Linked DNA regions of Homo sapiens: region 1 is linked to region 2. Evidence: promoter capture Hi-C in 16 types of primary human blood cells and fetal thymus (Javierre and others, 2016). All regions are on one chromosome and are shown on one strand. Each heading gives the region's core, a stretch centred on a gene start or on the middle of the fragment in contact. The rest is flanking DNA. Distances are from core to core; before and after follow the strand shown. Region 1 overlaps ZNF10 (zinc finger protein 10). Region 2 holds the start of ZNF605 (zinc finger protein 605).

Region 1 (6,997 bases), core at 3,184-5,683, 200 kb before region 2:
CAAGTGGTCCTCCTGCCTCAGGGCCTTTTAAGTAGCTAGGACTATAGGTATGCACCACCACACCTAATTTTTAAACTTTCTGTAGAGACAGGGTCTCGCAATGTTGCCCAGGCTGGTCTTGAACTCAGTCAATCCTCCTCCCTCAGCCTCCCAAGTTGTTGGGATTATAAGCATGAGCTAACACACTGGGCCTTGGTATGAGCTTCTGAAGAAAAAAAAAATTCCATCACTGAGGAGATTGTTTTCCTAATTCTACAAGTAAGATATATTATTTCAGGAGGCTTTGGAAAGAACTGAAAAGTGTAAAAATAGAAAAGGAAACACCAATTTTCCCAATATATAGGCTAACTACTGTTAATATTTTGACAAATCTCCTTAGTTTTGGGCAACACTCATTTTTTACATTTATTTTGACATATTTGAGCTTATTCCATATTAACAATTATTTATCATGCTTTTGTAACACATGACAGCATTTTTCCTTTACCAAACTTTTTGTGTACATATTTTAATGCCTGCATAATCTTCCATTACACGGATATGCCACAAATATTATGCTAGTGTACATTTTTTATTTTGCAAATTATGCACTGTCATAAATATTTCAGTGATCATCCTCATACATATTTCTGTCTTCATTACAAGTTAGACCCTTAAGGTGTTAACAATAGTAATATTATTAATGGCACCTACTATGTGCCAGGCACTCTTTTATGTGATTCATACATATCATCTCAATCCACATGACAACGCTTTGAGGTAGATACTAGTAGTAACCTCATTATACAGTTGAGGAAATTGAGCCACAGGTTATTAGCAATGTTAAGAGCCCCAGTTAAGTGACTATTCTACTCCCTTAATGAAAACCATTTCTGATAGGTATGTTGTATGTGGGCATGGTGTGTACACAGTGAGAAGAGCAGCAGGAAACATGAAACCCAGGACCTAGTTCTGAGTCTGACTTCACTGAAAATGTGAGACCGGGGCCAATTCACTTGATCTCAATTGTACAACGACAAGTATGAGCTAGAGGCTGCCATGTTCCTCGTAGTTCTCAAGTCTCCTGATTCTAACCATCATTTCTAGGTTTTTTCCTCAGAGAGAGATCAAGATCTCTGGTTGGCTTCAGCAATACTTCATCTATCATTCAACAATCAATCATTGAGCAGCTAATATTTATGCCAGAAAATGGAGAATCATGGTCAGTCCCTATATACAACAGACTGATTTATAGAATGAAAGAGAAAATTAAAATAGATCCTCTTCCTGAATCTTTTGTGGGTTATTAACTTACCAGAGAATCTGAAGACTGGGATCCTCTCCATAGAATGGAAAACCTTTGTACAAACAGAATAAATGTGTATACAACATTACAAGCTGTTTATTGATCCTCAGAAATGAAACCTATATCCACTATTTGTCAGTGATTTTCCCAGGCTGTTGAGTTCTGATTTAGGCAAAAGGGAAAAACCATGTATGACTGTAAGGGAAGTGAGAACTCAGTAAATTCTTATAAGCACACAAGCAGATTTCAATTAAATAACAGATATTAGGGTGCGGCAATATTATTAATAATCACAGCCAGTAACTACAGAGAACATAATATATGTCAGGCACTATTCTAAGCTGTTTCCATTTACTCATTTAATACTCACCATAATCCTACCAGGTAAGTACTATTATTATCGCTAATTTACAGATGAGGATATCAGTAAGTTTGGCACAGAGAAGCTAAGCAGCATGTTCAAGATCACCCAGCTAGTGGGGTTTCAACCTGGGTAGTCTAGCTCAAGTCTACGCTCTTAAACACTAATCTTTCTTTATAAAGATAAAAGACTACCTTGAGAAAGAGGGTATCTTTGGACTGTGCTCTGTTTATCACATGAGGACACTTGCTCTAAATATTGTTTAAATACTTGTTCCCACTAAAATGGGGACCCTCCCTGATATGTTCAAATGCCCAATGTTCCCCTAGGTCCTAACATCCAGAGAATTACTGTGTTTTTAAATTCTCAGGAGCTTTTGCAGTGCTAATAAGAGTGGAAAAAGTGGAACTCTGTGACCCAAAACAATTTAGAATAGGAAAGCTCATTAACAGGTGGTACTCAAAAGCTTCTTTGATGGTAGAATAGAGAAACTAGATATCCTCTTACAATATTTAAAAGTTTCTTAAAATAATTATTACAGCAACATTAAACAGACTATAAAACTCAGTCAAAATCTCCTTATCTAACAAATCAATTCTGTTCAATTATCTGTATACTTTCAATTCTTGCCCACATGCAAATGTACTTAAAAATGGGTTAGCACTGGTAGTGGAGATGTGTTGTTTTTAATTGTACTACATTATAAGCATTTTTCTTGCTGTTAACCAAAATATGGTTTCTACCAGACACATAAAACATACCAAACACTACTAAATGTCCCAGAAGAGAGACATAGTCAAGAAAACAATGACATATTGACTGAAATATTATTTTCCATCTTTTGTTGCATTAACTGTATCATTTCTTAATTCTCAGCAACAACTCTCCCTATAGTAGCATACTCATTTCTTTTCAAATGAAGGGGTTCTCGCTCAACAACTCACCTATTTAATAATTCCTTCTCAGATTCTAGCATTTAAGACTTGGTCAAGAATGCTCTCAGGCCAATTACTTCTGTAGGAATTCATGAAAAGAAGAAAATCTGATGGATTTGTGTACTGAAATAAAATCTGTGGTTTCTTTCCCTTCCAGGACCAATTCTCTAATGTGCAATAGGATAGTAACAAGACTGAAAGCATTTCCACATAGATTCAATTTGTACAGCTTATCTCCAGGAGTTCTCCAATGCAAAATAAAGTCATTGCTCTTTGTGAAAAATTCCCATATTTATTAGTAAGCATTTTCTCTAATATGATTTGTCTGGTATCCAATAAGGTTAGAGGTATTAACAAGCGCTGTCCCACATTGATTGCATGTTAAGAACTGCTCTCCAGTGTGAGCTATTTGATGAACTATAAATGGAGAGTTCTGGCTGAAGATAATGCCACATTGATTACATTTATAGGTCTCTTCTCCAACATGAATTCTCTGGTGCTTAATGAGGTCATTCTTCCGGATGAAGGCTTTCCCACACTGACAGCATTCATATGGTTTCTCTCCAGTGTGTATCCTCTGATGCACAATAAGGGCAGAACTCTGGCTGAAAGATTTTCCACAATCATGACACTCATATGGTTTCTCTCCAGTGTGGGTTCTTTGATGTGAATAAAGGTGAGAGCTTCGACTAAAACATTTTCCACAATCCTTACACTCAAAAGGTTTTAGTCCAGTGTGAATTCTATGATGCACAACAAGGTGAGATCTCTGGCTGTAAGACTTTCCACATTCATTGCATTCATAGGGCCTCACTCTCACATGGGTTCTCTGATGCAGAATGAGATGTGTGCTCTGTCTGAAAGATTTCCCACATTCAGGACATTCATAGGGTTTCTCTCCAGTATGTGTCCTCTGGTGTCTAATAAGCCTAGAGCTATGAACAAAAGATTTCCCACACTGATTACATGTGTACAGTTTGTCTCCTGTATGAGTTCTCTGATGAGTAACAAGGTGAGAGAACCAGCTGAAGGATTTTCCACATTCTTTACATTCATAGGGTTCCTCACCAGTATGGGTCTTTTGATGTCCAATGAGGTGAGAACTCCGGCTGAAAGACTTTCCACATTCTTTACACTCATAGGGTTTTTCTCCAGTATGAATAAGCTGATGCCTAGTAAGATTAGAGCGCCAGCTGAAGAATTTTCCACATTCCTTACATTCATAGGGTTTCTCTCTATGTATGCCCTTTGATATACCAAGAGATGAACCATGAGTAAGAGAGTTGTCATTATCAGGGCATTTGTAGGATTTATCACCTGTGTGAGTTCTTGCAAACTGAATAAGGTGAATGTTTTGACAGAAAGTTTGACCACATTCATTACTGTTACTTGCACAACTGTCCTGATGACCATTAAGAACTAAATCATGTTTTAAACTTTTAGTATGTGAGTCACGTTTATGGAAATACTCTCTCAGTACTAGCTGAGCAGGAAGAAGACAGTTTCCCCCATATTTACCACTTTCAGAGACTCTCTCCTGAGTAAGTACTTTCTTTTGGGTGAATGCCACTTGCCTCAAATGTCTCTCTGGGTTTTCCTGATACTTGTCTAACTGGTCTCTACATTTCCAGACTTCTTCTAATGACAAATACCAGAGATCATTCCTTGCCATTCCTTCCATTTTAATGTCACAGGATTGCTTATCTTTAAAAATGCTCCTGCTGGAAACTGATGATTTGATTTCAAATGCAGTCTCTGAATCTGAAAGAAATGAAAAATGTTTGTGTAACTAAACAGAGTATTAAGGTGAGAATGCTAGGATGTATGTGGAGACAAAGTATGCAAGATGTACACAGTTGCTTTCAAATATGGCTTTATAACTTTGATAGAGAATGAGAAAAGGAAGAATGGAGCGGTAAACAATAAATGCATTGTGGTATACAGTACTCACAAAGGGCAAAAGGAGTAAGGAGAAGCCACAGGACACAGCATGACACATGGGATCAGGGTATCAATGGTGAGGGTAGAAATAAGGGAAATTCCATAAAAAGGACTGCACTCTCATTTTCTAATCCAGATATTAACAGTCTAAGTTCCTCACCTGTCTACTTGTTGTCAGGACTTTCCCCTGACACACATTCTTCACATTACTATCAATTTAGTATTCTCTCTCTTTTTTTTTTTTTTGAGACAGTTTCGCTCTTGTTGTCCAGGCTGGAGTGCAATGACACAATCTTGGCTCAATGCAACCTCCGCCTCCCAGGTTCAAATGATTCTCCTGCCTCAGCCTCCCAAGTAGCTGGGATTACAGGCACCTGCCACCATGCCTGGTTAATTTTTAATATTTTTAGCAGAGACAGGGTTTCACTATGTTGGCCAGGCTGGTCTTGAACTCCTGACTTCAGGTGATCCACCCGCCTTAGCCTCCCAAAGTGCTGGGATTATAGGCGTGAGCCAGTGCGTCCGGCCCAATTTAGTATTCTTAAACCATGAATGCAGCCATACGTCAGGCAATGCTTTCTATCCAAATCACAGAAGCACTATAGAATAACACCCAGATGAGTGACACAACAGACCTCTCAGAGCAGCTACATGACAAGGTGGAAGAGTAACTGCACAAAAGTTACCAAGATGCAAGTTCTAAGTTTTATATTACGACTAGTGGTGAATTTAGACGAGTTGCTAAACTTTGAAGAATTCATTTTGCTTATCTGTAATCTAAGGATGACAGTATTTGTTATTTAAGATTATTATATTATATAAAGCATGAGCCTATTACAGTCTCTGGCACATTTATGGTCAAAGCAATAAGATTTACAATAATCATCATCATTCTTCTCATTTTTTTGATTTCTTCGCTCTGAAACATAAGGACTTAACAACTGATAGGACTACTACCACAAGATGTGAACTTAGAATCTGAAGCCTGACCCATACGCTCTTAGAATTTCTGCCATCTGCTACCTGTGTATATTACTGCAAATTATTTCTCTTGAATAAGAGCTTTATCTGTTTCTCAATGTCTTTCAGGTAAAACATATAATCCCAAACCTAAAAAATACACTGATGATACCACTTCATCTTACATAAGTGGGGTGACATTCCACTCTTACCTGGTATTATGGGTTAAACTGTATCCCCCCCGCCGACAAAAAGGTATGTTGAAGTTTTAATCCTCAGTATCTCAGAATATGACCATATTTGGAAATACAGTCTTTCCAGATGTAATTAGTTATGATGAGGTAGTACCAGAAATAGGATGGGCCCCTAATCCAGTATGAGGGTGGTCCTCCATAAAAAAGACACAGACACAGGGGAAGAGACCATGTGAACATGGAGACCAAGACTGGAATGATATATCCACAAGCCAAGGAACACCTGGGGCCAGCAGAGCCTGGAAGAGATAAGGAAAGACCCTCTCCTAGAAGCGTAGCAGAGCCCCACTGACATCTTCATTTTAGACTTAACAGCCTCCAGCTGTGACATGATACATTTTGGTTGTTTTGAGCCACCTAACTGCTGGTTCTTTGTTACCGCAGCCCCAGGAAACTAATACACCTGGTAAATGATCCCTGTGCCAGGCCTGGTCCCTAAATGACTTCCTTATACAATCCCACCCCGACCAGTCCTGTCCCTTACCACTTAGTTAGTTCCTAGTTTCTTCCCCATCCTGATGATTTTTAATAGGAAATACACCACCCTTTCCTCCCTTTCCCCAACCCAGAACATCAGAAAATCTTATGGAGAAGTTTTTCAACCTACAAATGCCAACTGGAAGATTCTATGAAGAATATCTATGATAAGGGGGGTGCTGAGCACTTATGGAGGACAATTCTGAGTGGAGAGTTTGGTCATAAGAATGAGGTGTTTTATTAATATCCTAAAATCTTCCACATATTATGTAATACAACCATGCCAGTAAGTTATTGTCGAAGTCTGTTGGACCCATCAATCAACTAATCATCTGATTTTTAAAAATCATCATTCATTATATTTTTTGATTTGATAATGAATTTAACAGCCTTGTAGATTCTGTAAAACTCCATGCCTTTAAGCCCATGAAGTCTGAGTATTTCTTTTGACAATAAATTCTCAATAAAAATATAAACTGCTGGGTCCAGTTAATAATTGTTATTTTTGGATACTTGTCAACAGACATTCAGGAAAGCTTACTAGATGAACAAAATAGAAAAGAAAGAAAGAAGGTAAGTAATAAAAAGAAAATATAACAATATTTCCTCCCATGGTCCCAAAGAAAGACTTGCTTTGAGATACCATTTTGATACAATCACCTACAAGGCAAATACTAAAAAGTAAAAAAGAGCTTATGATAATATTTCAAAGTAGAGATTTAAACTAAGTGGAAGTTCAGAAGAGGAAGAGGCCAATACTTAATGAGGAATCATAAAAGCCTTC
Region 2 (7,179 bases), core at 2,361-4,860:
GATGAATGTCCATAATTTGGGGTTTTTGTTTTAAAGATCAAAGACTGAAAGGGAAAGAGTTGTTGGATCTGGTATGCTGCTTAATAAGGATTATTTATTGAAGAGTCACTTTTCAATAGATGTCTTGGTGAAACCCAGTAATTTTGGGCACTTAGGGCACTAGGAGATTTTTGTATTTTTTTTGTTGAGGGGAGTCTTATGGGTCCAACGTATGTCATGAACGATGAGCTTAAAGTTTCACAAAACCTAAGTCACTAAATTATCTTGTGGCTGGGAGAAAGAGTGTCTTATCTTTAAGACTTATCTCTGTCTTTATACAAAGTTTTTTTTACTGGCTTTGGTCATTTAAAATGGGACTTCAGATGTGCCAAATGAACTGAACTTAAGAGTTTAGCCAGTTTTTTTTTTTTTTAAACTTACAAGTTTTACTTAAGCCATGGAATTTTTTTTTAGAGAGAGAAACTGTTTTCTTTCCTGACCAAAATTGGAATGAAAGAAAAGGCCATGGCCATGCTCAGTGGCTCATGCCTGTAATCCCAGCACTTTGGGAGGCCAAGACAGGCGGATCACCTGAGGTCATGAGTTCGACACCAGCCTGGCCAACATGGTGAAGCCTCGTCTCTACAAAAATACAAAAAATTAGCCAGGCATGATGGTGGGTGCCTGTAATCCCAGCTACTCGGGGGGCAGAGGCGGGAGAATTGCTTCAACCCAGGAGGCAGAGGTAGCAGTGAACTGAGATCGCGCCACTGCACTCCAGCCTGGGTGACAGAGCAAGACTCCATCTCAAAAAAAAAAAAAAAAAAAAGGCGTATAAATTCTAGTAAGTCATTTAATAAATGACACGCTTAACCTCGGAGAAAAGTGAAAATCATAAATCTGTGAACAGCAAAATTTTCTGAGAACAAAAACAAAACTACCTTAAAGCAGAATTTTAATTTTAGCTCTGTTGAGCATGGAATTGGTTTGCTTAAATAAAGTTGAATCTCAGTTAGAAGCAGGGCAATGTGGGCTGGGTACGGTGGCTCAGGTCTGTAATCCCAGCACTTTGGGAGTCCGAGACGCATGGATCACCAGAGGTCAGGAGTTTGAGACCAGCCTTGCCAACATGGTGAAACCCATCTCTACTAAAAATACAAAAAGTAGCTGGGAGTGGCTGGGCGCAGTGGCTCACGCCTGTAATCCCAGCACTTCGGGAGGCCGAGGCAGGCGGATCACGAGGTTAAGAGATCAAGATCAGCCTGACCAACATGGTGAAACCACGTCTCTACTAAAAATACAAAAATTAGCCGGGCGTGGTGGCGCACGCCTGCAATCCCAGCTACTCGGGAGGCTGAGGCAGGAGAATCACTTGAACTCAGGAGGCGGAGGCTGCAGTGAGCCGATATTGTGCCACTGCACTCCAGCCTGGGCGACAAGAGCAAAACTCCATCTCTCACAGGCTCCAAATTTACTAATATAGAATTGAGCAAAATATTATTTCATATATACTTTAATTTGGTCTTTATGGCCATTTCAATTTTTTAAATTGCCAATTGTGAGTGTGTTTCCTGTTTCTCCCCATTTTTATTTTAAAAAACTAATATGCTTTTACAGTTTTTCTTTTTCTTTTTTTTTTTTTTTAGACAGAATCTCACTCTGTCTCCCAGGGTGGAGTGCAGTGGTGAGATCTCAGCTCACTGCAACCTCTGCCTCCTGGGTTCAAGCAATTCTCATGCCTCCACCTCCTGAGTAGGTGGGATTACAGGTATGAGCCATTACAGGCATGAGCCACCACACCTGGCTAATTTTTATATTTTTAGTACAGATGGGGTTTCACCATGTTGGTCAGGCTGGTCTCGAACTCCTGACCTCAGGTGATCCGCCCGCCTTAGCCTCCCAAAGTGCTGGGATTACAGGTGTGAGCCACCGCGCCTGGCCTGGCCAAAAAATATTTTTAAGAGAAGGTGTCTCCCTCTGTGGCCCAGGCTGGAGTGCAGTGTTGCCATCATAGCTCACTGCAGCCTCAACCTCCCAGGCTCAGGCAATCCTCCTGCCTCAGCCTCCAGTAGTTGGGACTACAGGGACAAGCCACTGCTTTATATATCCATAAATATATTTTATTTCCCTGTAATGTCCTCATCTCATTTATTTTTCCTTTTTTTTTTCTTGAGATGAGGTCTCACTCTGTTGCCAGGCTAGAGTGCAGCGGCATGATGGCTCACCGCAACCCCCGCCTCCCGAGTTCAAGTGATTCTCCTGCCTCAGCCTCCCGAGTAGATGGGATTACAGGCGCCCACCACCACGCCCAGCTAATGTTCTGTATTTTTAGTAGAGACGGGGTTTCACCGTGTTGGCCAGGATGGTCTCAATCTCCTGACCTGGTGATCCGCCCACCTCAGCCTCCCAAAGTGCTGGGATTACAGCCGTGAGCCACCGCGCCCAACCCTATCATCTATTTTCATTCCTTTTGTCAATACTGCTGGATTGGATGTACTAAATGTAAGGTCCTCTGAGCTGGCCGCACCATGGTCAAGCCATCGTGACATTCCCCCACCCTTGTGATAATGTACTTTGTAATATTCCCGGTCCTTGTGAATGTACTTTGTAACATTCCTCTCCGCCCTTGTGACAATACACCCTCCCCGCCCTTGTGAATGTACTTTGTAACATCCTCCCCTGCCCGCAAAAAATTGCTGCTGAGGCCGGGCGCGGTGGCTCACGCCCGTAATCCCAGCACTTTGGGAGGCCGAGGAGGGCGGATCACGAGGTCAGGAGATCAAGACCATCCTGGCTAACACAGTGAAACCCCGTCTCTACTAAAAATACAAAAAAATTAGCCGGGCGTGGTGGCGGGTGCCTGTAGTCCCAGCTACTCAGGAGGATGAGGCAGGAGAATGGCGTGAACCCGGGAGGCGGAGCTTGCAGTGAGCCGAGATCGCGCCACTGCACTCCAGCCTCGGCGACAGAGTGAGACTCTGTCTCAAAAAAAAAAAAAAAAAAAAAAATTGCTGCTGACTCCACCGCCTATCCTATCCCAAAGCTATAAGAACCAATGACAAGCCCACCACCCTCCGCTGACTCCTTTCTCAGACTCAGCCCACTTGCACCCAAGTGAATAAACAGGCGTGTTGCTCACACTTAGCCTGCTCAGGTGGTCTCCTATACGGACGCACGTAACACTAACATTTACCGATATTACTTACAGCTACGATGAAAAATGGAAAAGCAGCCGGACGCAGTGACTCATGCCTGTAATTCCAGCATTTTGGGAGGCTGGGGCAGGAGGATCATTTGAACCCAGGAGTCGGAGACCAGCCTGAGGCTGCAATGAGCGTTCATGGCACCACTGCACTCCCCACTGGGTGACAGAGCGAGACCCTGCCTCCAAAAAAAAAAAAAAAAAAAACAAGGAAAAGATGCAGACGCTTCCTCCTGGAGGCGCCTTTAGGTTCTCTCACAGACATGTTGGGCCAGCAGTGCTGGCTCCATCCTAGATTTCTTCCAGTCCTCCCCAGTTAGCCGCCAAGGGGCTTTTCCAACCGGAAACCTCCAATCCGCGACCCCGGCGGGTGCACCGCCGAGCCCCCCGGGAAGTGTAGTTCCAGCGCGAGCGGGACGCTGGGAAATGTAGTTCTGCGCGTTCACGTCCCCGATCGGGCCGTGTCCGCCGCGGCCCTGCGAGGTCCGAGGGGTAAGGGAGCGTGCAGCGGGGGCGGGACCACGAGGCGGCGGGGCTGGGGGCGGCCTCTGTGTCTGCGCCGGGGATCGCGGTGACCCCGCTGCGGACCGGCTCGCGGTGACCCCAGCGCGAACGAGCTGGCTGCCGGCTGGGGCGAGAAAGGCCTGCGGACCGGCCTGGGCGCATGCGCGGAAGGCGGGCCTCAGGCGGGGGCTCTGGGGGCGCGCGGGGGTGGGAGGCAGAGGGTGGGGTGGGGGCTGTAGGGCGGGCGGCGGCGGGGCGCTGAATGTGGGTGTCGGGGGAGATTTGGGGTCAGCTGGGCGATTCACTGGGGGCCTATGGAGGTCGCTGTAGACTTGGGGTGCAGCACGGGCGGGGCAAGGGGACGCGAGGTTGCCCTTGGCCCCAGGGGAGAGGGGCCCCTGGGAGGCCGTGTGGAGGATTTGTCTGCAGCGATTAGGACTCTGCTGATGAATGATTTGGATGCCTTTGGGTGAGCATTGGAGGCCAGCGGGGTGAATGATGAGGCTTCTGCGGGGGCCTGCGTTGGAGGGCTTAGGGGCTTGCTTGTGTGGGTTCCATTCACTGGAAAGCCTGCCGGCTGTGACAGTGTTGGATTTCACCAGAGCCCTGTGCTCCTGGAAAACAGCGAAGGTTGAGGAATTTCCCACCCTTTTGGGTTCCAGCAAATGGCTCACTGCAAAGATCTCCCGTTCCCTATATGACTTTGGTCAGCCTCCAGGATGCCCCTTGTTCACACAGACCTGCCACGTTGCCGTCGCTTGCCTCATCGGTGACTGGCTGAACTCCACCGAGCGGTCGGAGCAAAATGCTCCTTAAGCAAACTTTAGCTAAGCTTCTTTCCTTTCCCCATTTTCTTGAGCTTTGGCCCATCCCCAGCCTGAGCCAACACGCAGCCTCGCCTGAGAACAGGCTGGCTCAGGGTCAAGCTTTCCCCGCTCTGCTGTCTGGTCGCCCGCACTTCCACCTCGCTTGGCCAGGCCTGGTCTTTGCTAACCTTGTTCACACCTCTCTGTGAAAGAAAAACCCTTTTTGCCTTGCAGAGATGCACGTGAGTCTCGTGGCTTCACGGTTCTTCCCAGAAGCCCGTTCTCCTTCCCCTTCCCAACCCTCTTCCGCGTCTTTTTTTCCCCACTTCCAATAACCCTTTGGAACCGTCTTTCTTTGCTCTGTCCAGTTGTATGTTTTATTTGACAGCTGAATAACAGTGGTTGCTCTTTCAACCCCTGTCTCCAATAGCGGAGGCGAGTATGGGGTGGCCTATGCTGGCGAGTGGCTGGGGTTTGTTTCTGTGCTTGTGTTTGGGGATCTTATGATGGAAGCATTAGGAATGGCGCTGTGTATTTGTGACAAGGGAGTCTGGATGTAAGTTAATGGTGGACCTGTTGCAAGTTGTGAGTGCGTGGACAACGGGGGTCATACTTGGCGTCATTGGAGGGGCCTGCGGGATCGGCATTTGTGCAGAGCCCCACAATCCCTTTCCAGGTGGTGTTTGGGAGGGCCTGTGGGAATGTCAGTGAATGCTCCAGCATGGAGTGGATTAGAGAATGGGGTGTCATGGGGGCGAATGCTTGGGGGCCCCGGGGATAAGGGATTAGGGATCCCTGGGCATTGAGTGACTGGGGTCTAATTTAGGGGGTCTGTGGCGCAAGCCTCAGAATGTCAGTTACAGGGGAGGGGCTCTGTGAGCGCCTGACTTGGGCACCTGATGAAGTGAGTGAATGGAGACCAGTGTGTTCGTCCCAGGACAGAAGCCCCTTCTCCTCCCCTCCCCACCCTTCTCCTCCCCTCCCTACCCTTCTCCTCCCCCATCCTTCTCATCCCCTCCCCACCTCACCTGCAGGAGTGACTGAAGCCCCTTCTCCCCCGCTCCCCACCCTTCTCCTCCCCTCCCCAGCTCATCTGCAGGAGTATCTGAGTTCTGTGGGGATCCTTTGGGACTCAGAGTTTGGGGTTTCAGTCTGTGGTGATTCTTAAGTGGGGCTTTGGGGGTGCTGGTGATTATGGTGTCTGGCATCTGTATTTAAAAGCCCTGTGGGAGTCACTGAGGTCCAGTCATCAGTTGGGCCTGTAGGGATAACTCTGCCTGGCCTGTGAGGTCTATGGTGTGACGTAGGAATGGTAAGTGTCTGGGGGCCTGTGGAGGATTAGGAATAAAGGGTCCAGTGTACATCGTTGAATGGGGGACAGTTTTATTGGCTCGTGCCCTGGCATTGGCTTTGTTATTTGAGGGTGTTGGAACCAGGTGAGAAGGAGCTTGTTTGTATTAGTGACCGGGTACCAGAGATGACTGAATGACTGATGGGGTGGGCAGTGAGGTCTGTGAGGAGGAATGATCGGAGGGCTTGGGATCAATGCCAAGTATGCGTGCAAGTGTCTGTGATGGGTGTGCGGGTGGGTGAGGGTGAGAAATTGGGGACCCTGTGGGTGTCAGTGAGAGGGAAGCCTGGGGAGCCTAAGAGTTTGTTTGCCATTTGCGGTGAATGTGGAGTTAGAAGTTAGTGGCCTTAGCTGGGCACCGTGGCTCACACCTGTAATCCCAGCACTTTGGGAGGCTGAGGCAGGCAGATCAGGAGGTCAAGAGATCCACACCATCCTGGCCAACATGGTGAAACCCCGTCTCTACTAAAAATACAAAAATTAGCTGGGCATGGTGGTGGGCGCCTGTAATCCCACCTACTCAGGAGGCTGAGGCAGGAGAATTGCTTGAACCCAGGAGGCAGAGGTTGCAGTGAACCGAGATTTTGCCACTGCACTCCAGCCTGATGACAGAGTGAGACTCCATCTTAAAAAAGATAATAATAAGTTAGTGGCCTTTGGGTATCTGTGATTAGTGGTCTATACTGTGCCAGTCTGTGGAGTCTGTGGTCAGGTGTTTCTGGAGGCTGTTGTGGGGCCACTAGAGTTACCGCCTGGGGTCTTTGTTGGATGGTCACTGGGGAACCCATAGTGTGTGTCTCTGAAGGCCCTGGAGGGGCGGCCTCTTGGGGAGAGAGACTGGGTGGCCTGTGAAGTCAGCCATTGTGGTCCTGTGGGAGTGATGGGGGCACATGGGGTGAGTGAGAGTGGGGTTGATGGGGTTCGGTGGTTGTGTGGTCTGGAGGTCTGTGAAGCAGGCCTATTGGATTCAGTGATCTGGGGATGTCTTGGGATGTGGACCTGGAGAATTCTCAGGTGGTCACTGTGAGTGACTGGGGGACTTGGGATGCTGGAGGTTGGCAGGGGCTTGGAGCTGCGGAGTTCAGTGGTTTGTGTCTGGGGTGTGTGTGTGATGGAGGCCCTCTCTGGGACTTGGTAATCCGGGGAACTTGGCAGGGCCGTGTTGGTGGGTCTGGAAGCAGATCCGAATGTGAATGGGTCGTGGGTTGGCTCAGGCAAGCCTCTCGTGAGTGACAGGTCTTTTTGCCCTTTGGCCCTCTCCTTGTAGCTTGTGACCGCTGATCAGTGATCACTCTTTTTACGTGATTATTTCCTTTTTTAAAAGTTCTCAGTGACCC

What was found. The method cuts DNA at HindIII sites, captures the fragments that hold promoters and counts their contacts. A CHiCAGO score of 5 or more calls a contact.
Region 1: a fragment that was not itself captured here is called in contact with the fragment with the promoter of ZNF605 in region 2 in 9 of 17 cell types (M1 macrophages, M2 macrophages, naive CD8 T cells and 6 more); the score reaches 8.4 in M1 macrophages.

Annotation. Positions count from the first base shown.
Region 1 is chr12:133,152,848-133,159,844 of GRCh38, reverse strand. ZNF10 (zinc finger protein 10) reads right to left here. Exons shown (of 5, transcript NM_015394.5): 5 at 380-4,342. The coding sequence ends at 2,877. Among named protein-coding and RNA genes, the nearest start is that of ZNF268, 25 kb to the left of the region's middle. RefSeq lists an enhancer at 3,437-4,636. The HindIII fragment of the contact is 4,637 bases long and covers 2,115-6,751 here.
Region 2 is chr12:132,952,737-132,959,915 of GRCh38, reverse strand. It overlaps ZNF605 (zinc finger protein 605), which reads left to right and starts at 3,610. Exons shown (of 5, transcript NM_183238.4): 1 at 3,610-3,673. LOC124903064 (a long non-coding RNA gene) reads right to left here and starts at 3,367. Exons shown (of 2, transcript XR_007063552.1): 1 at 3,186-3,367. RefSeq lists enhancers at 3,400-3,479, 3,233-4,061, 4,339-4,633, 4,062-4,892 and a silencer at 3,640-3,979. The HindIII fragment of the contact is 12,358 bases long and covers 1-4,519 here.